Regions from separate parts of the Homo sapiens genome. Here all the other regions are linked to region 1. The links are contacts of gene promoters, found by promoter capture Hi-C in blood cells and fetal thymus (Javierre and others, 2016). All regions are on one chromosome and are shown on one strand. The core of a region is centred on a gene start or on the middle of the fragment in contact, and the rest is flanking DNA. Distances in the headings are between cores, read along the strand shown. Region 1 holds the start of AHCYL1 (adenosylhomocysteinase like 1). Region 2 overlaps ATXN7L2 (ataxin 7 like 2). Region 3 holds the start of AMIGO1 (adhesion molecule with Ig like domain 1). Region 4 overlaps GNAI3 (G protein subunit alpha i3). Region 5 overlaps GNAI3 (G protein subunit alpha i3). Region 6 overlaps GSTM4 (glutathione S-transferase mu 4).

The links. Contacts are between HindIII fragments. The CHiCAGO score rates a contact against its expected background, and 5 or more counts as called.
Region 2: a fragment that was not itself captured here is called in contact with the fragment with the promoter of AHCYL1 in region 1 in 3 of 17 cell types (non-activated CD4 T cells, neutrophils and naive B cells); the score reaches 6.9 in non-activated CD4 T cells.
Region 3: the fragment with the promoter of AMIGO1 here is called in contact with the fragment with the promoter of AHCYL1 in region 1 in 1 of 17 cell types (neutrophils); the score reaches 6.3 in neutrophils.
Region 4: a contact is called between a fragment that was not itself captured here and the fragment with the promoter of AHCYL1 in region 1, in 7 of 17 cell types (erythroblasts, non-activated CD4 T cells, naive CD4 T cells and 4 more). The highest score is 7.0, in erythroblasts.
Region 5: a fragment that was not itself captured here is called in contact with the fragment with the promoter of AHCYL1 in region 1 in 2 of 17 cell types (naive CD8 T cells and M2 macrophages); the score reaches 5.7 in naive CD8 T cells.
Region 6: a fragment that was not itself captured here is called in contact with the fragment with the promoter of AHCYL1 in region 1 in 1 of 17 cell types (M2 macrophages); the score reaches 5.2 in M2 macrophages.

The regions. Positions count from the first base shown.
Region 1 is chr1:109,982,930-109,986,342 of GRCh38, forward strand. AHCYL1 (adenosylhomocysteinase like 1) reads left to right here and starts at 1,836. Exons shown (of 17, transcript NM_006621.7): 1 at 1,836-2,243. The coding sequence starts at 2,124. RefSeq lists silencers at 2,062-2,131, 2,312-2,381. The HindIII fragment of the contact is 11,948 bases long and covers 1-3,413 here.
Region 2 is chr1:109,488,397-109,491,809 of GRCh38, forward strand. ATXN7L2 (ataxin 7 like 2) reads left to right here. Exons shown (of 11, transcript NM_001350175.2): 6 at 1-69; 7 at 451-704; 8 at 1,534-1,732; 9 at 1,875-1,996; 10 at 2,526-3,321. Among named protein-coding and RNA genes, the nearest start is that of CYB561D1, 4.0 kb to the right of the region's middle. RefSeq lists a silencer at 2,461-2,510. The HindIII fragment of the contact is 4,525 bases long and covers 1-3,413 here.
Region 3 is chr1:109,508,183-109,511,595 of GRCh38, forward strand. It overlaps AMIGO1 (adhesion molecule with Ig like domain 1), which reads right to left and starts at 1,545. Exons shown (of 2, transcript NM_020703.4): 1 at 1,238-1,545; 2 at 1-817. The coding sequence starts at 730. It overlaps LOC105378893 (a long non-coding RNA gene), which reads right to left. Exons shown (of 3, transcript XR_001738179.2): 3 at 2,420-2,459. RefSeq lists silencers at 1,149-1,208, 1,219-1,368, 1,429-1,548. The HindIII fragment of the contact is 14,739 bases long and covers 1-3,413 here.
Region 4 is chr1:109,552,311-109,555,723 of GRCh38, forward strand. The region is part of intron 1 of GNAI3 (G protein subunit alpha i3); the gene reads left to right. Among named protein-coding and RNA genes, the nearest start is that of GNAI3, 5.4 kb to the left of the region's middle. The HindIII fragment of the contact is 1,044 bases long and covers 1,340-2,383 here.
Region 5 is chr1:109,573,298-109,576,710 of GRCh38, forward strand. It overlaps GNAI3 (G protein subunit alpha i3), which reads left to right. Exons shown (of 9, transcript NM_006496.4): 2 at 440-482; 3 at 599-740. Among named protein-coding and RNA genes, the nearest start is that of MIR197, 24 kb to the right of the region's middle. The HindIII fragment of the contact is 8,274 bases long and covers 1-3,413 here.
Region 6 is chr1:109,658,442-109,661,854 of GRCh38, forward strand. It overlaps GSTM4 (glutathione S-transferase mu 4), which reads left to right. Exons shown (of 8, transcript NM_000850.5): 6 at 373-468; 7 at 559-669; 8 at 2,724-3,259. The coding sequence ends at 2,813. Among named protein-coding and RNA genes, the nearest start is that of GSTM4, 4.0 kb to the left of the region's middle. The HindIII fragment of the contact is 1,267 bases long and covers 1,180-2,446 here.

The DNA.
Region 1 (3,413 bases), core at 586-3,085:
TTAGGGCCCTAGAGGTGAATATTTCACACTCTCCCCAGCCCTGAACACAAATCAGTGGGGAAAATGCCATTTCAAACCAAAACTTCCTTCTTGAAAGGGTATGCCCTGTTAAAAACCTGGGAGGTTTCTGGATGTTAAAAGGTGGTCCTGGCCAGGCGCGGTGGCTCACGCCTGTAATCCCAGCACTTTGGGAGGCCGAGGCAGGTGGATCACGAGGTCAGGATCCGAGACCAGCCTGGCCAAGATGGTGAAACCCCGTCTCTACTAAAAATACAAAAATTAGCCGGGCACGGTGGCGCACGCCTATAGTCCCAGCTACTCACTCAGGAGGCTGAGGCAGGAGAATCACTTGAACCCGGCAGGCGGAGGTTGCAGTGAGCTGAGAGCACTCCAGCTTGGGCAACAGAGCGAGACGTCATCTCAAAAAAAAAAAAAAGGTGGTCCTGGGGAGGAATTTAGGGAAAGGGCACTGGGAAGACTGGAATTGCTCAGCACAGCAGAGGAGAATCTGGCTTCCCAGAGTCTATCAAGGAAGGAAGGATGAGGTGCAGAGATGGGAAGGGAGGAACAGGAGGAAGCTAGATTAGATGGCAATGGGCTAGGGAGCGTGGTGGGATCTTGTGGCCATTGAGAAATCCCCGGGTGGTAAGACAGCCAAAATAACTTTTCAGAACATTTCAGAAATGTGTTCTTAAATTGTTTGCTGTGTGATGTAATCTCTCCCCTGTGACCCACAAACCTTTATTAAAAGTTTTACTACATGTTACAGCCTTATTTTGTAGTTGTTTAGCATGGGGTGGGGGTTGAAAGGAGAAGCGGCTGAATTGACCCCAGGAGCTACAGAAACAGTCACAAGACCAGAATAGTGAATAAAATGCCAGACAAGGCAAAAAAACTAGAGCCAGAGGTGACCATGAAAATCCAAGTCCTCCCAGTAATGGACTTTCCACAGGACATGGTAATTGGAGCCAATGTCATTTGAATCTCAAAGGACAAGCTACCTCAGCTGACATTAGGATACAAGCAGGTTTTGCCTCTCCAGCTGAACTAAGCCTTGCAAAACATAAAATGCGTCACATGTCCTTTTGCCAGCAGGGCCTCAGCACAGGCACTGCACATAGTAGGCCCAGTAAAAGGGTGTGAGCAGTCCATGAATGTCCTGGATGCCCACTGAGAGCTGGAAGGGTCTAATGCTTTGGTGGAGCAAGGACCGGAAGGCCATTCTGGCTGGGGACTTCTCCATCAGCTCTCCTGGTCTCCACCCTCATACCCATCAGCCCTATCCCAATGAGGGTTTTGTAAACAGGCAAGGCCCAGTCGGAGATGGTGGTGGAGGAAGTCACAAAGCGTTGTGCAGAAACCAGACTACTCTGAGTCAGTTCTGCCCCCTATGAAGTCAAAAAGACAGGCACGGCCCCTTGGGAAGGAGCTTTAATCCAAAGGGCCTGGGGCTGGGCCAGTGAGTGAGTGGGCTGTCTCGAGCCCCGGACATTTCCTAGGAATCGCTGTAGGATGTGTCGTGTGGGGCTCTGGTCTTTGCTCCCAAACACCCCTTTCATGCGCCTCTGAGGCCTTGCCAGGAACCCCGCAGCCCAAAGACCCTCCGTTCCGCAGCATCGTTGCATGAACCTCGCGCTGCTCCCAGGGCTGATGGTGCCACCTGGTGGCACAAAGGGTCCTGCTCACCCTGGGAACTTCGCTCTCGAGCGGGAGAGGAACGGCTTCTGTGGCCCAGCCCAGCGTGGTGACGTCACGACAGAGTGCCCTTTCTCCCCGCCTCTTCCCCCTCCCGGGAGCTGCCAGTACTTGACGTGGCGTCACCGCCCTCTACCCTCGCTTTGCGTGCGTGTTTGCGTACAGCGGAGGTGGCGGCGCGGGCAGGTCGGAGCTCGGAGCTGCTGTTCTGGTTCTCTTGTGGCCGCCGTCGCTGTCCGGCTGCCTTGGGCTGCCGAACAGACAAGGCGTGGGCCACAGCACCTCAGAAGCCGACGCAGCTCGACGCAGGGGCCGGCAGGAGGGTGGGCGATCGCGTGTCGGAGGGCGCCGCGCGGGCAGGCGGGCGGGCGCCAGAGGGGGAAAGAGGCGGGGGCGGCGGGTCAGCCGCTGGCCGGGCCGGCCGGGGAATGTCGATGCCTGACGCGATGCCGCTGCCCGGGGTCGGGGAGGAGCTGAAGCAGGCCAAGGAGATCGAGGACGCCGAGAAGTACTCCTTCATGGCCACCGTCACCAAGGCGCCCAAGAAGGTGCGGGGGCTCTGGGTGGCGGCGGGGGCTCGGGCTCCGGCCTCGCGGAAGGGACGCGAGCAAGCCCGGGCTCTGGCTAGTTTGGGACTTCTGGGGGTGACTGGGGACGGCGGAGGTGATGTAGGGGGTGGCGGCTGTGCGGCCCCAGGCCTCTCCCGGGCTGAAAGGCCGCCTCTGACCTCGCTTTCCTTTGTCCCTCGGCCCAAGTCCTCCGGGATCGTTTTGAAACCCGACAGGGCCAGGCCTTAAATTTGCGACTGACTTTTCCTGGATGAAGGGCCTCGAAGACGAGAGTGGGAGGGGGTGAACCAACTCAGCTGACCCTTGTGACCAGTCCGGGGGCATGGGGTGTACAGAAAATCTCCCTTCAGGTGAGTGGGTAAATCTGGCAGAACTTCCATCAAATCTTTGGGAGCAGTGGCCGCTTTATCCAACAACTGCGTGATAGCTGGGAGGCAAGAGAAAAGAATGCGTGAAGCTAGCTCTGATATACAGGTGAAAGCGATGAGGGTAACATGAAACTGAAAATCTATGATTTTCACTTTCTACAGCATTCCAATTACTTCGAAATATGTAAGAAATTGACATTTGGAGGTTGGTGACAGCAGACACTGTCATGGATACAGGTGGATCCTAGAGTCATGTGAATAGATCACTTAGGCATCCCTGGAGAAAGGAGCTTGGGTGGGTTGGAGTAGTGGGTGGTAAGGGAAGATTGCTCACTCTTGACTGTACTTTTGAGGCAGAACAAGTTTGATCTATTGTGCTGTAGGTTGACTCAAAGGACACCCTTCGAATTCTCTCATAAATGGCAACCTTTGGAGATTTTAGTCTGACTAGCTCTCCGAGTGGTGGAATTGGGATCCTTATTGCTTTCTCATCATTTACTGCCAACCACATCTTGATTTTCCATACACCTGGCACCCAGTTAGCAGTAGACCAGAGAACCTTTACAAAGAGGTGACCTTCCTGAAGCCAGTGAGAACCCAGATAAATGTCTCCCTTCTTTATAAAGACAGAGTCTTACAAAGCTGTCTCTGCCTGCATCCAGTGTTTAATGGGATGCAGGGCTGAACAAAGCAAGGGCTGCAGGAATAGTTAAGTCCTTGAGGCTTCAACTAGTTAAGCTGTCTTAAGTGGGAGAGATGGCTCTTTTTTTTTTTTTTAAGT
Region 2 (3,413 bases), core at 584-3,083, 490 kb before region 1:
CTCAACAGGCAGTGTGGGGTAATAAATCCAGAGACCAAAAAGATCTGTACCCGCCTGTTGACCTGCAAGGTAACCCCCTTCCCACTGCACGGTGAGGGAGGACAGCACAGGGCTTGCCCACTCCTTCCCTGGGCAAAGAGAGGAATGTCGATGTTACTGAAGGTCCAGCTTAAGGGAGGGCAGTTAGGCCCACCCAAGGGAAGGGGAGATGGGTATGCCCCTCCTGGGCAGAAGGTGGGAACAGTGGGAAGGAGGGAGTTTCCAGATTCCCCCATCCCAAAGGAGGGTTTTGGCCCCATGGGGGAATGAAACAAAGACACATGAACACAGCTGCAAATATGCCCACCTCTCTCCCTGCCCCCCAACTTGCCCGGGCCAAAGCACCCTGCCGTCCCTCACCCCTTCTCAGTTCATACCTACTCCCCAGCTCTCCACTCTGCTGTATTCTAGATCCACTCAGTACACCAGCGCCGGGAAGTCCAGGGCCGGGCCAAGGACTTTGACGTGCTGGTGGCAGAGCTGAAGGCCAACTCCCGCAAAGGGGAGTCTCCCAAGGAGAAGAGCCCAGGGCGCAAGGAGCAAGTTCTCGAGCGCCCCTCCCAGGAGCTCCCCTCCTCAGTCCAGGTTGTAGCAGCGGTGGCTGCTCCCAGCAGCACCTTCTCTGTTCGTGCCAAGCAGACCTACCCATACTGTGCACTGCCCAGGTACGTCTAGAATCCAACCCCTACCTCACCTGGGGGTACTTGGCCCCTAAGCCATCAGGGGCCCCTGGAAACAGGCTCAGGGAGTGTCCTGGAAGAGGCACTCCCTCAGCCCTGAGTGTGGGGGTATTCCTGGGGCTCCTGACAGTGGTGTGGAAGCAGGAGACTCCCCTGTTTCCAACCAGGCATACCACAGCACCCCAGCCTCTCGGCAGTGTGCCAGATCCAACACTCAGGATATGAACATTTTCCCAGCTGCCTCCAACAGACCGAAACTTGTCACTGGGGAGCTGAAAGGGTCACACTCCTGGGCAAGGCAGCCCTATGTGTATTCACTCACTGGCCCCTTCGCGTGCAGAGGCTATGCCGGACCCCAGGGAGAGCCTGACTTGCTGAAGGAGACACACATGCATCTCTGCCTGTCACACAAGGGGCAGACACGAAACACAGGCTCAGCTCACAGACAGGCTCACAGGAATATGTGATGCAAGAAGGGGGTTGAGCGAGTTGACTGGGCTGACCAGAGCTGGGTACAGTTTTAACTGTGAAGATTTTCTGGAGGAGGCGGATCTGCAGCAGATTATCCCCTGAGGAGGAAGGGGCTGGGAGGTGAAGGGGCTGGGGAGAGAATCCCTTGGGAGCAGTCTCTCTGTCTCTTACTCTGTGAGCTGTGTCGTTCCCTCCTGTCCTTCCCTTCCCTCTGTCCTCTTCTGATTGCCCTGCAGGGTGTCTGCCCTGGTGCCCTGCTCTTTGAGCTCGGCAGGTTCAAGGATGCCCCTACTCTGACCCCACAACAGTCACATTCCCCTGGCATCCCTTTTGGCCCTTCCAGGTCCCGGGCCTCCTCCGAGAGTGAATTGGATGATGAAGGCCCCTGTGGTGGTGATGGGGACCCAGGCCTGTTCCCCTTCCCCATGCCCCGGGGTGGGACCCAGGCCTCCAGCGAAGAGAGTGAGGAGGAGGGGACATCTGACGACCTCCACCCACCCCCTGACTGCCATTATGCAACCCGGCCCCCACGGCCACAGGCGGTAAGGACCTGGAATAGGGGCCTATGGAGGGGGTGGCCCAGCACTCCTGGCCAACAACATGGGGAGGAGGCCAGATCCTGTGTGCAGATGCTGTCTGTGCACCCCAGACCCTGCCAACCATGCACCTTCCTTCTGCCTTTAGTTCTGCACCTTTGGGAGCCGGCTGGTGAGCCCAGGATGCTATGTGTTTAGCCGCCGGCTGGACCGGTTCTGCTCAGCACTCAGCTCCATGCTGGAACGGCACCTCAGCACACACATGTGGAAGTAAGTCTCTCGGACCCAGAATGGAAGTTCTAGAATGGAAATTCCTAGGTTCCAGACATACTTGGGCTTCAGAAGCCCTGATCTTTCCTGTATACCCATAGGTGTGCCTTGGCTATTTGCCAGCAGGACCCCAGATAGGGAGTAGCATGAAAAGGAGGTGGGAAAACTTGGCAGCCTAGAGTTTGGCTAAGGCAGGGCATGGAAGGGTGGTCTGGGGGTGAATCTAGACTTTCATCCATCACTTCCAGTACCTTTTGGGTAACTAGGGATAGGGGATGCCCAAACCAAGATTTAAAATGAAGTTCCTAGTGGGCTGCCTCCTAGTTAGTAGGTACTAGCTAATTCCTCTCCACAGGCACCCCTGTGTCTTCTTCCTAACCCTCAGTTCCAGCATCTCCCAGCAGATGGCAGCAACTCTGGGGCTCTGCTGACCATTTCTAGGTGGGGCAGAGAGACTGGAGTGTGTCTTGTGTTGGGGGAAGCTGTCTTGTTTCTTGGCAGTCACAGTGGGGCTTTCTTTTTGCTGCAGGAAGATCCCACCGGCAGCTGAACCTCCAGCTCACCTTGTCAACTCCCCGTTATCTGCTCCCCTGAGCCCATCCTCTACAGGCACCTGCCCCCGCCTTCCAGGTCCAACCCTGAGACCTGCCTGCCCAGCCTCCATGCCCCCCACCAAGGACAACCTTGTCCCCAGCTACCCTGCAGGCTCCCCCAGCGTGGCGGCTGCCTGTAGCCAGGCAGAGTGCATGGGCGGGAGCCAGGCTATCACCTCACCACTGCCTGCCAACACGCCATCCCCGTCCTTCAGCAAGCTGCCGCCTTCCAAGGCCAGCAAGTCATCCAAAGGCAAGGACGGGGTGGAGGTGGAGGCCCCTTCTCGAAAGCGGAAGTTATCCCCTGGCCCTACCACTCTTAAACGGACCTGCATCCTGGAGCCCACTGGAAAAGGGAAACCCTCTGGCTGTAGGGGCCTCTCGGCCAAAACTAAAACAGCCCTGAGCATGGGGCTTAATGGGACAATGGGGCCAAGAGTGAAGCGGGCAGGGCCCCTGGACTGTCGTGGCTCCCCTCATCAGCTCCCCACACCAGTCAAGGCTTCTCAGCTGGAGAACCGGGGAGCAGCTGGACACCCAGCCAAGGCCCTGCCAACCAACTGCCTCTCTGAGGAGGAGGTGGCCAAGAAGCGGAAAAACCTGGCCACTTATTGCCGGCCAGTGAAGGCCAAGCACTGTCAGGCTGGTGCCCCTGCTGATGTGGCCTGCTCTGTGCGCCGCAAGAAGCCAGGCCCGGCCCTGGCCTTTGAGGAGAAGTGCTCTACACTGAAGGTACCAGCCAGGCTCCCTGAAGATTGATGAGGGTGGGGCACACAGGGGGTACCTGATACAGAGAAGATGCTACATTGGTGTTTGTGCAGGGA
Region 3 (3,413 bases), core at 295-2,794, 480 kb before region 1:
CGGAGCTCAGCTGCCGATACTGCCAGTGTGAAAACAGCTGGTAGAGCTCACAGTCGCAGTTCAGGGGGTTGTTATGTAGGTACAGCCCATTCTTGATCCAGGCCGGCAGCTTCTGCAGGTCAGGCAATGGCAAGTTCTTCAGCTTGTTAGAAGAGAGATCCAGGAGCGTTAGTTTGGGTAGCTTGGCTCCTTCCTTGACCAGTTCCAGAGGGAAGCGAGAGATCTGGTTCTGGCTCAAGTAGAGTTTCTGCAGCTGGGCCATGTCATCGAAGGCGCACCGGTCCACCGCCATGATGTGGTTATTGTAGAGCAGCAGCACCTCCAGTACTTGCAGGTCACTGAACAGGAACTCATCCAGTGTACGCAGCTGGTTGGAGGAGAGGTCCAGGTAGCGCAGGTTGGGTACCGGGGAAAAGGCCTCAGAGGAGATGAAGTTCAGGTGGTTGTGGCTCAGCAGCAGGGAGTGCAGTTGGGTCAGGCGCGTGGGGGTCCACTCGGCCCGCAGGCGGCTCAGGTTGTTGTGACTGAGGTCCAGTAGTGCTGTGTAACTGGGCAAGGAATGGGGCACATTGGGCAGCTGCTGCTTGGAGCAGCTGAGGATGTTGCTGGCGCACAAGCAGGCGGCAGGACAGCTAACCACGGCTCGGCCAGCTCTGGCCACCTCAAAAAGCAGCAGGGACAAGGACGGCAGCAGGAGCCAGAGGCCTCTCGGGTCACGGTGGGGGTGCATAGTGTCACTGGAGTGGGCGAGGAAGGCCACAAGGAAGATCTGGGAGGAGGTCACCCGGGCATGTTCTGGTGGGGTACGGAAGGGTCACTTGAGAGAAAGAGGATGGGTTTGTGGTCACCAAGGACTCCAGAGGGAAGGACACCCTCTCCCACTTCCCCTCCCACCCTTACCTCCACCCCCTTTGGGCTAGGAGAGAGAGATGCTGGGTAGTTTCCAGGCACTGTGCAGGCAGTGGGCTGTAAATATCGGCCGAAGAGGAGGTGGCCCGAGGGCCTACTGGGCTGGGGTCACAGGGGTGCAGGCTGCAGGTATGCACAGGATGGCAGGGACTGCTGGGAGTCACAGGGATGGCACGGGCAGGGTTTGGAGGTGGGGTCGGTGTGCCTTTTGGGAGGAGCTGAGGGAAGGTCAACAGGGCACCGGGCTGGGTAGGACGCGTCCGGTCGGGGTTGAGGGTCCCCGGGGCCTGTAGGGGCGGGCTCCCCCCGGGGCCTCCGGTCACTGCACCTGCTCGGCGAGGACGTGTCTCAGCCCATGGCCGGTCTGGGAGCTCCGTCGCGGCCTCTCCCGGCGGCGCCTCACCGGCCGGCCTGTCACTGCGCCCACCTTACGCAGGGGCCCGCGCCCGGCACCGTCGCCTCCCGGGGACTTGCGGGGCCCCGCTCCGCTCACCCTGCCACCGCCTCGACCGCTGAGCCCGCCGGAGCCCACCGACCGCGGTCGCTGCCTCCAGGTCCGCAGGCCTGGCGCGGATCGGTGCGGGGAGCCGGAGGCGCAGCGATCCCAGCGGAGGGAGCGGCGTGGGGGCAGCGAGCACCGCGCGCGCGCCCGTCGCCGCCGCCGGAGCCTCGGGGCGCGTGCGCGCGGCGGGGGCGGGGCGCACGTGCGTGTGTTTGTGTCGGAGCCGGCCGGGCGGACGCGCGCGGGGTCGTTCCCTCAACCAGCGAGCTCCGGACGCTGAGCTAAAGACGAAAATTGGCAGGAAGAGCGGCACTGGCCCCTTAGGCTCCGCTATAACTTCCTCCATCCCCCATTCCCCCATCTCCCAGCACCCTTCTCGCTACACAGACCGGCTCTCAGGAAAAGTCTAACTAAAGTGAATTCGCTGCACCTACTCGGGCAAGAGGCGTCACATGTCTTTTAATTTCGCAAATTGAAGAAATCTGGCTCAGCTCCCGCCTGCCAATGTTGGCGGGAAATTCATTAGTCACATTCTGAGGTTCCCCCTCCCTTCTCTCTGTGGCTGTGGGGTCTCAAAAATTGGGGGAGGGGTTCCCCCCACCCCACCCCCGTCTTGATGCTACTAGTTCATGACCCTTGAGGTACCACTGAAGGGCACAGCTCCTTAGCCTGCAAGCCAGCTGCGCAGGAGTGAGGGGAAAGGGGGTGTTTGGTGAGCCCAGGCCCCAGAACACCCCTTTACAGACACCTCATGCACCTCTCCCCACTCCACCTGCTACACACACACACACACACACACACACACACACACACACACACACGGACTGCATACAAGCCAGGGACAATTTCCATTCCTGGAAACTCCGAAACCCTTCCCAGCCCGGAGGAAGTCATTCAGCCCTTAGGTCTGGCCACTTGCCTTCTTCCTAAACCAGTGCCAGCTCCCCACTCCCCTTATGGAGCAATTGCAACATAGTTTCTCTGTTACCTAATCCTCAAGATGAAGGCCAGTGGTGGAGGTGGAGGGGTTTCTTCTTTAGGGTGGCCCCTGAAACAACAAGAAGCTGTTACTAGTGTATGTTGTTTGGGTTTGGGGGTGAGGAAAGAGAGAGATGCAGGAAGAGCCTAGACCTTATCATTCAAGATGTTAGCTGTTCTTGAGATGGTGGACCATAAGAAATTACCTTTTTATTTGTTCCAGTCTCTTATAACAGCAAGATCAAGACTGAAATTAATGTCTCAGTAGATTAGCTTGCTAAGAGTTTTAAAAAGAATTTATATCTGTCACATGTTTTACCATGAATTTTAGTGAATATATTATCTCTTCAAGGAGTATTAGCGTGTTAATCTTATGCATAGTGTGAAAAGGTCTTTCTGCAAGGTGCAGTGGCTCACACCTGTAATCCCAGCACTTTGGGAGGCTGCGGCAGGAGGATTGCTTGAACCCAGGAGTTCGAGAGCAGCCTGGGCAACATGGTGAGACTCTGTCTCTTAAAAAAAAAAAAGGCATGGTGGCACGCACCTGTGGTGCCCACTACTTGAGAGGCTGAGGTCGGAGGATCACTTGAGCCCTGGAGGTCAAGGCTGCAGTGAGCCATGTTTGTGTCACTGCATTCCAGCCTGGGTGACAGAGCAAGATCCTGTCTCAAAAAAAAAAAAAAAAAAGAAAGAAAGAAAGAAAGAAAGAAAGAAAGAAAGAAAGAAAGAAAGAAAGAAAAAAGAGAAAGATGTTCTGTTCTGTTCATTTCAGGCATCATTGAAAAGATGAGGAGGGTAATCTTTTTGGAGGACAAGGTGTGAAGAATCTTGAAATCACATTGCATCAGTTATCTATTGCTGCATAATCACATTACCCCAAAACTTAGTGACTTCCTACAGCAATATACATTTATTGCCTTTCACAGTGTCTGTTGGTCAGATTCAAGAGCAGTCTGGTGGACAGTTCTGGCTTGGCAGTTTCTCATGCAGTTATGCGTTAGATGGAGCTACAGTCATTAGAAGG
Region 4 (3,413 bases), core at 612-3,111, 430 kb before region 1:
ATTTTTTATAGCATTGAAATTTTAAATCATTTTTATAAGTTCAAACTTTTACAACAGTTGAAATTACATTTGAACATCTTTGGTATGATTTCCTCTTGTATAATTCATGAATTTGGTAATTTGGTTATTTACTATTTAAACAATTAGAGATGGGGGTCTCATTATGTTGCCCAGGCTGGTCTCAAATGCTTGGCCTCATGTGATTCTCCCATCTCAGCCTCCCAAAGTGCTGGGATTACCAGTGTGAGCCACTGTGCCTACCCTACCATGAATTTGGTAATTTGAAAAAATTTTATTTGGTATAAATACTAAATTTATACCAATTTAATATTTAATATCATTTGTAATACTTTGTATTTTTTTCATGCCATAATTTCATAATAAGAAATTTTGTGTGTGCGGGTTTTGTTTTTGTTTTTTTTTGACCCCAGGGCAAGCAAGAAAATTTTTTTTCACCAAGCTCTTTCAGCTCACCCCAATGAGCCTTACAAATATTTTTAATGTGTGCCATCATGTGACAAAGGTTGGGAAGCACTGGTATAATGGATAAGAGCACTGCTTTTGGATTCACACAAAACTGAATTTAAGTTCTACCTCCACTTATTAGCTCTGAGACCCAGAGCAAGTAACTTAACCATAAGAATAATAATTTTTACATATGTAAAGCAGAGATGATGTTTCATAATATGAAATGAGATAATGCATGTAAAATGCTTCACATTAGTGCCTAGCAAATAAAAAATAGTAAGTGGTCACTTCTATTGATGATGATGATCGTGAGAATTACCATTTTAGCTACTTTTTTCAGAGGTTTTTCAGACAGCTGTTTTATTATTTTTCATATTAATATACTATTTTCAAAGATCTTCAAAGAATTTTAATATCCTTTTGTGGTGAAAGGAATTAAATGTTAGTCCTTTTTTTTTACTCATCACTGTACTAATGAAGATACTTAGTTTTGTAAATTATTGAATTATCTGCTCTCTGTATTTCTGTTTCTTGATAGTTTCCTTTAGCAGGTTCTGAGAAAACATAAAAAAAAACTTTGTTCTTTGGGATTTGCTGGTGGTAGTATGGCAAAAAGCCAGTTGCATGCAGAGAACTGGAATCATCTAATTTACTTAAACTCTATATTATACAGTTAATTATATTTAAATTGCTGCATATTATTGGCTGAATATGCTTATTATTGAGAATAAGACTGCCCTTTGGTAAACATGCCATTACATTATATCCTCCTATGGGATTATACCCTTTATTATGTTTGCCATTTGCTTGGGATAAGGTTCATGGCCAGTTACATTTCATGTGAGGATGCATCTGTGTTTCGGGGAAAAAAAGCTTTGTGTTTTATAAGCATGTATCATTCTTTGTGTCTTTTATTTAAATGCATTAGTCACTTTTTTAACATTTCAATAGGTTTTTGGGGAACAGGTTATGTTTGGTTACGTGAATAAGTTTAGTGGCAATTTCTGAGATTTTGGTGCACCCATCACCTGAGCAGTCTACACTGTACCCAATGTATAGTCCTTTATCCCTCACCACCTTCCCACCCTTTCCCCCGAGTCCCCAAAGTCCGTTGTATCATTCTTAGGCCTTTGCATCCTCATAGCTTAGCATCCACTTACAAGTGAGAACGTACGATGTTTGGTTTTCCATTCCTGAGTTACTTCACTTAGAGTAATCGTCTCCAGTTCCATCCAGGTTGCTGCAGATGCCATTATTTCATTCCTTTTTATGGCTGAGTAGTGTTCCATGGGTGTAGAGGGGTGTGTGTGTGTGTGTGTGTGTATATCACATTTTCTTTATCCACTCGTTGATTGATGGGCATTTGGGCTGGTTCCATATTTTTGCCATTGTGAATTGTGCTGCTATAAACATGCGTATGCAAGTATCTTTTTTGTATAATGGCTTCTTTCCTCAGGGTAGATACTCAGGAGTGAGATTGGTGCATCAAATGGTAGATATACTTTTAGTTCTTTAAGGAACCTACACACTGTTTCCCATAGTGGTTGTACTAGTTTACATTCCCACCAACAGCGTGAAGGTGTTCCCTTTTCATCACATCCACACCAACATCTATTTTTTTTTTATTATGGCCATTATTGCAGGAGTAAGGTGGTATCACATTGTAGTTTTGATTTGTAGTTCCTGATAATTAGTGATGTTGAGCATGTTTTCGTAAGTTTGCTGGCCATTTGTATATCTTGTGAGAATTGTCTATTCAAGTCCTTAGCCCACTTTTTGATGGGATTGTTTTTTTCGTGCTGATTTGATTTCCTTGTAGATTCTGGATATTAGTCCTTTGTCAGATGTATAGATTGTGAAGATTTTCTCCCACTCTGGGTTGTCTGTACTCTGCTGATTTCTTTTGTTGCTCAGAAGCTTTTTAGTTTAGTTGAGTCCCATTTATTTATTTTTATTTTTGTCTTTGCATTTGCTTTTGGGTTCTTGGTTGTGAAGTCTTTGCCTAAGCCAATGGCTAGAAGGGTTTTTCCAATGTTATCTTCTAGAATTTTTATGGTTTTGGGTCTTAGATTTAAGTCAGTAGCCCTATACACCAACAGCAACCAAGCTGAGAATCAAATCAAGAACTCAACCTTTTACAGTAGCTGCAAACAAAAAACAAACAAACAAACAATACTTAGGAATATACTTGACCAAGAAGGTGAAACACCTCTACAAGGAAAACTACAAAACACGGCTGACAGAAATCATAGATGATACAAACAAATGGAAACACGTCCCATGCTCATGGATGGGTAGAATCAATATTGTGAAAATGACCATACTGCCAAAAGCATATCTACAAATTCAATGCAATTCCCATTAAAGTACCACCATCATTCTTCACAGAACTAGAAAAAACAATCCTAAAATTCATGTGGACCCAAAAAAGAGCCCGTATAGCCAAAGCAAGACTAAGCAAAAAGAACAAACCTAGAGGCATTAGATTACCTGACTTCGAACTATACTGTAAGGCCATAATCACCAAAACATCATGGTACTGGTGTAAAAACAGGCATATAGACTAATGGAACAGAATAGAGAGCCCAGAAATAAAGCCAAATAACTTCCAGTCAACTAATCTTCGACAAAGAAACAAAAATGTGAAGTGGCGAAAGGACACCCTGTTCCACAAATGGTGCTGGGATAATTGACAAGCCACATGTAGAAGCATTAATCACTTTTGCAGTCTGAAAATACGGCCCTTTTCAGGAATTAAAATAATGTAATTTTCCCTGACTACGCTATTCCTGTAGTACACTGATGGCCATAGAGTAGGGTGCTTAATACTAGATTTCACAGGGCATGTAAGGTTCTAATAAGCGCTGCTACTACGTTTCTTTAAAAAATAATTTTTAGCATACTAAACTTATATGCATTATTACAAAAAAGTCTTTTAGTTTTTA
Region 5 (3,413 bases), core at 627-3,126, 410 kb before region 1:
GTGACTGGTAGTATTGCTCTCAGAACATTTCTGTGGTATAGGCAGGCAGCAACAGAGGAATTAATAAAAATGAATAGACCAAAAAATAATGATTTCATTTTTGCCCATGTTCAGTGTTTATATCATGTTTTATGTAGTGAATGAGTTCCTCCAAAAGTTTATGTTGCCATCTGTCCTTGGATATGCCTATTTTACACAAATGATACCAAGCAAGCCCTAGGACACTTTCAATAAATTATACTTGGTTGCTGAGTTATGTAAAGAAAGCAAAATGCTGTAGTGGAGAAGCTCCATACATTTTCTTGATAGACATGAAAGCCTCACCAAAATTTTCCCTAGGACCCGTGGTTTTCATCAATCTAGAGTTATCATTCATGTTGATATTATACTTTTATGTTGATTACCGAGAAATTCAAAGTCTGGTTTTCTTTTCTTACAGGTGCTGGAGAATCTGGTAAAAGCACCATTGTGAAACAGATGAAGTAAGTTGGAATGTAGCGTTTTGTTAGACTAGGATTTCTCCTAATGCATATAAAGTCCATAGTATCTTTTCATTTTAGGTCCATGGTATTGACTTGTGGTTTTCTTTGTTTTAAAGAATCATTCATGAGGATGGCTATTCAGAGGATGAATGTAAACAATATAAAGTAGTTGTCTACAGCAATACTATACAGTCCATCATTGCAATCATAAGAGCCATGGGACGGCTAAAGATTGACTTTGGGGAAGCTGCCAGGGCAGTAAGTGTTTCTCATTTCCTCTTCACTTGCTCTTATTCAGCAGATACAGTTAAGTTAAGCAAAATTTTTGCTTCATGTTTTAGGGAAATGAATTTAAGCAACAAGATAAAATGTAGCAAAGTACTTTGTGCTCACTTGAGAAATGTTAGCAATCTACTTTAGCAGGTGTTAGATATAACCACCCCAAGAGGAGCCTAGGAAATGGGATTCTGTGGGTGCACGGTAGGTTTCTGGGATAACTGTTCTATTCAATTGCTTTTTTTTTTTTTTTAACAGCACTGTTGACTTTTATAGTAGTAGATAATAGTACATTAAAATAATCTAAGAGAAAGGTTGCCATGATATGTAGCTCTGCTTTCTGAGGTGTACAGATTAAAGGCCAAAATCAGTCTCCCAGAATAAATTCTGTAAGGACATGAGCACTAAGTCCAAATTCTTGAATATCTAAGTCAGATATTCAAGAATACTGTATACTACATGGAACCTAAGGCTATAGAATTGGAGTATAACATGCCCTAGTATAATTCTTTAATGCCTTGCACATGTCAGCTATTTAAAAAGTTGTATTATTATAATAATACTTAGTGGACCCTGAAGATCTAGTTTATAAAATTAGAGCATGTGTAATTAGGATGTTTTATGCCATTGGGGAGGGTGCCAATATGAAGGCAGGAGATCTTTGATATTATTATCAGCTAAAATCCAGAGAAGGCTGGGAAATTATAGAATTATTTCCTACATCTAAGGGACTCACTGGCTGTGTTCAGAGTGTCATACTTATGTGCCATGGCGAAATAAAAGGAAATGATTTGGGAGGTCTGCCTGGAAAGGCAAAACCTATATGTCTATGAAGTTGCTTAGGAACTCTCATAAGCCACTCCCAACTTATCAAATGCGAATTTATATTTGATAAAAAGATAGGAAATTGTTGAGGGGAAATACTGAAAGGGTAGTCACAGTTGGATAGTGTTAGACTAGAAAGTGTCTTAGAAATGGCATAAAGGAAGAGGAGCTGGATTAGGGATTGTGAAATGAGAGACTTGTATCAAAAAATAAGAAAATATGTGAATGTGACTTTTATATTTTTGTGAAATATATCACAGAGACTATTTTTCTATGCATCTGAGCAGGGAAGTTTGGCAGTCAAGCAAAAATAAAGCCTTTATCCTTGTCTTACCCTTTCCTATTCCTTCTCTCACCCCCTGCTTTTGTTTCCTTCTTTTCCTCTTTTTCTTCTTTATACCAGCTCTATCTGTGGTCTTATTTTTTCTTCCTCCCTTTTCTCATTTCTCCCTATCACCTAACTCTACTTCTCTGTTGTATTTGTTGTATCTGGTAACTGGTCAGTAGTACTGTATTTATTCTCTTCCTTCTCTCTGTTGGTTTTTTCTCTGTCTCAGTTATTTATTCTTTTAGTTTGTCCCTTTTCTCTTTCCCTCTTTAATTTTATTCCCCGCCGTCTGTCTTCCTTTATTTATCTCCCTACCCTTTCATTTCTTTTTTTTTTTTTTTTTTTTTTTTTGGAGACGGACTCTCGCCCTGTCGCCCAGGCTGGAATGCAATGGCTGGCTGCAGCCTCTGCCTCCCAGGTTCAAGCGATTCTCCTGTCTCAGCCTCCTGAGTATCTGAGATTACAGGCGCTCACCTCCACGCCCAGCTAATTTTTGTATTTTTAGTAGAGATGGAGTTTCACCATGTTGGCCAGGCTGGTCTCGAACTCCTGACCTTGTGATCCGCCCGCCTCGGCCTCCCAAAGTGCTGGGATTATAGGCGTGAGCCACCGCTCCCGGCCCCATTTCTTTCCATTATCAAATCAATTGTCATTAATCTTTGTATCCTAATACTCTTGTGTCACCAGATGCAGTTGACATCATTAGTCCCTCTCAGGCCTCCTAAATCATCCAGCTTTCTGGTGTCCACACAACCTAGTCTGTAATCCTATATTATAATTTTTAAACATTGCTTTTTATTTTTCCTTCTGTGTGTAAGGTTTTATGTTTATAGCTCCTCTCTTATTGTCTTCTAGTATTTTTGTTTGTTTGTTTTTTGAGGCGGAGTTTTGCTCTTGTCACCCAGGCTGGAGTGTAACGGTACGATTTTGGCTCACTGCAACCTCTGCCTCCTGGATTCAAGTGATTCTCCTACCTCAGCCTCCCAAGGAGCTGGGATTACAGGCGCCTGCCACCACGGCTGACTAATTTTTGTATTTTTAGTAGAGATGGGGTTTCGTCATGTTGGCCAGGTTGGTCTTGAATTCCTGACCTCAGGTGATCCACTTGCCTTGGCCTCCCCAAGTGCTGGGATTACAGGTGTGAGCCACTGTGCCCGGCTTCTACTCTAGTTTTTTATAGTTGGTTAGAGAGTGTGAATGGAAAAAAAATAGAGCTGAGTGTGGAATAGGTTCCTTTTTCACATCTGCTTAAGTGTGGAGGTGTGAAGTTTATTGTAAAGAGGGGCCTCTTCTGTTTTTTTTTTTGTTGTTGTTTTTTGTTTTTTTTGAGACAGAGTTTCACTCTTGTTGCCCAGGCTGGAGTGCAATGGTGTGACCTTGGCTCACCGCAACCTCTGCCTCCTGGGTTCAAGCGATTCTCCTGCCTCAGCCTCCCGAGTAGCTGGGATTATAGGCATGCACCACCATGCCCGCCTAATTTTTTTGTATTTTTAGTAGAGACG
Region 6 (3,413 bases), core at 563-3,062, 320 kb before region 1:
AGGAGGAACTTTCAACTTCTTTCTCTGAGCTCCTTTAGTTCTTTGTATCCTTGATTTTGCTCATGTCTGGGTCCAGAGCCTGCCAGGTACTCAGGTGCTCCTGGGCTGACCCAGAGGAGGGTGGTTGGGAGGTCAGTGGGGACAGATTCAGGGATAGTGTTGCATTCCTCTCTGCCTTCCCATCACCACAAAAGCCTCCAGCTACCCATTTGGAGTGTAATAAATGCTGGTATGTCCAGCTGAAGCCAGTTCCAGCTGTGGGGAAGATGGCTGCTTGCTCGTGGCCAGCTGGGGCCATACACAGCCCTGGGGAGGCCACATCTGTGCAGGGAGCTTGTGTCTGAGGGTGGTGACAGCTGTTTTCTGCCTCAGGAGAAACTGAAGCCAGAATACTTGGAGGAACTTCCTACAATGATGCAGCACTTCTCACAGTTCCTGGGGAAGAGGCCATGGTTTGTTGGAGACAAGGTAATGGGGGCATGTGATGAGGACACTAGAGATTTGCCATACATCCTACGTTACAGAGATTCCAGCCCACACATTCTTGGCCTTCTGCAGATCACCTTTGTAGATTTCCTCGCCTATGATGTCCTTGACCTCCACCGTATATTTGAGCCCAACTGCTTGGACGCCTTTCCAAATCTGAAGGACTTCATCTCCCGCTTTGAGGTGATGCCCCCATCCTCCTTTCTCTTTGATGCCCCTTGTTCCGTTACCTCCTTTCAGATGCTTTCCCAGTCCTGGAGCTACATAAAGAATAACTTGCATTTATTGAGTGCTGGCTTCATGCCAGGAACCTTGCCCAGCACATTATACCTATCGTGTGGAATTTGAAATTTCCAACATTCCTACAGGGTGACAGAATTATCTTGCCCATTTAGAGATAAGAAAACTTTGAATGAGAGGGTCAGTCCTTTGTTCTGGGTCCCAGAGCCAGTGGAGGCTGTGCTGGGCTCCCTGTGAGCATCTGGATCTATGGGTGGCAGTCAGGGCTCTCCCTTTTGTGACAAAAGAAAGAAGCCTCAGGCCTCATCCAGCCTGGATTTCACAGCCCAGGGCACTTTGGAAGAGGCAGAGAACTTTAGGAGCATGGATGCAGCTGGCAATAGTAGGACTGACACACGGTGGCATTGACGTCGAGTACGAAACCCACAGGCAGTATTCATAGCTACTCCCAGAAGCTTTGCACGATCAGACCCCCACGTGGGGAATCCTGAGAGCCAGAGCTGTGGCCAGAGCTGGATTAGGGTACATATGTGGGTGCCCCTGTTGAAGGAGTGTATGTTGAAGTGCTCTGTGCTGGGGCACTCTCCTTCTTTATCTTTTTTCCTCTCTTTTTTCCCTCCAGTGTTCCAAGTGTTCCCCCTGTGAGATGAGTAGCACACTGATTTTACTGCTATTCACCGACCTTCTCCTCTGCATGAGGCAGGGTGTGAGGCACAGTGGGAGTTGCATAGATGACTGCCCCATCCTGGAAATGAGTGCAGTGAGAGGCCTGCAGGCAGAGCAGCCTGTGAGGTGTGTGGCACCACCTGGGTACCAGGCCTGGGGCCTGCCCCTCACTCATGGGGAACCATCCCTCACCCGTGCTGAATTTGTTTGAGAGCAGCAAATCCTACTTTTAGTACAGATGTGAGAATTTGAGGCATTAGTCCAACAAGTTTTTCAGCCTAGAATTTGTTTTCCTTTCCCACTACCCATCAAGGGATCTGGTTACTCAGCTAGTTCCCATCAGCTCTGGCTGTGGTCTCGGCTGAGTGGCCTTGGGGTTATGTAAGAGGTAGTGGGAGGGGAAGAGAGCTGAGGGCTGCAGCATATGGTCCACCTGGGCTTGGCCCTTTGGGAATAGGCAGCCCTGGCTCTCTCTGAATCCTTAGAAATTACACGGCTATTTGATCCTGGAAAGATCGTGCAGAGCACACCTGAGTGTCATACAGCCTGGTCTGAGGTAGTGGGGTTGGAGATGAGGTGGGTTGGGGCACAGTGGTGTTTAGCTCAGGTACCAGGTGGGGAGGTTTAGACTTTCTGCTTTAAAAGGAATGATTAGAGCCTGGTCTGGCGTTTCTTTTGCTGGTCCAACACACCTTGACCACTTTCATCCAGGTTTTGCCAGGTCCTTGGGTGAGATCTGGGCTCTCTTCCAGGCTGCACAGACATTTTCAGAGGTCCCCTCTGTGTGTGCAAACCTAGGCAAGCCAGGTGCCTCCCTGTGAAACAGGAGAATGTTGTGTAGTCAGAGAGTGACAGGACCTCCTGAGGGATTTGGGGGAGGATGGGGATTTGACAGAAAGAGGCCAGAACTGGAGAGAGACAGAACCAGTCTACGTTGCAGCTCTGTCCCCCTTAGTAGCTATTTGAGTGTGAGGAAGTTACTGAACTTCTGTTTCCCACATGAGAAATGGTGATAATAGATTCAGCCTTGCAGAGTAGTCGAGTGGGTTTTCTAAGCTTATGTTGTAATTTCTCTTGGGTACAGAGCACCCAGCACCGGGTAGAATCTTCATAAGTGTTAGCTGTTACTGTGGTACAACATTACTTAAAGGAAGTTGGAAGAGTTAACTCCGCAAATCTGGGGACCCTAAGAGGCTGTGTGATGCCTCAGCACTTGAGCCCACGTGGAAAGGCTGTGGCCAGGGCCCTGACCTGCTGTGTCTGCAGTGGGGTTGTCCCAGCCCTCATGGGCAGCTGACCTTGAGTTCTGGCCTTATTTTCCCCCCTCTCAGGGCTTGGAGAAGATCTCTGCCTACATGAAGTCCAGCCGCTTCCTCCCAAAACCTCTGTACACAAGGGTGGCTGTCTGGGGCAACAAGTAATGCCTTGAAGGCCAGGAGGTGGGAGTGAGGAGCCCATACTCAGCCTGCTGCCCAGGCTGTGCAGCGCAGCTGGACTCTGCATCCCAGCACCTGCCTCCTCGTTCCTTTCTCCTGTTTATTCCCATCTTTACCCCCAAGACTTTATTGGGCCTCTTCACTTCCCCTAAACCCCTGTCCCATGCAGGCCCTTTGAAGCCTCAGCTACCCACTTTCCTTCATGAACATCCCCCTCCCAACACTACCCTTCCCTGCACTAAAGCCAGCCTGACCTTCCTTCCTGTTAGTGGTTGTATCTGCTTTGAAGGGCCTACCTGGCCCCTCGCCTGTGGAGCTCAGCCCTGAGCTGTCCCCGTGTTGCATGACAGCATTGACTGGTTTACAGGCCCTGCTCCTGCAGCATGGCCCCTGCCTTAGGCCTACCTGATCAAAATAAAGCCTCAGCCACATTTGCTATAGTCTTGTCTTATTTGCTCCTGGCTGCCCAGACTGTGTCTGTCACTGCCTCTTCTGAGGGACTGGCTGGTGACCCTGGCAGTAGCTGGGTTCATAGAGATTATGATGGGCTTAGTAAGGTGTTTCCAACTTTGTTTTTTTTTTGAA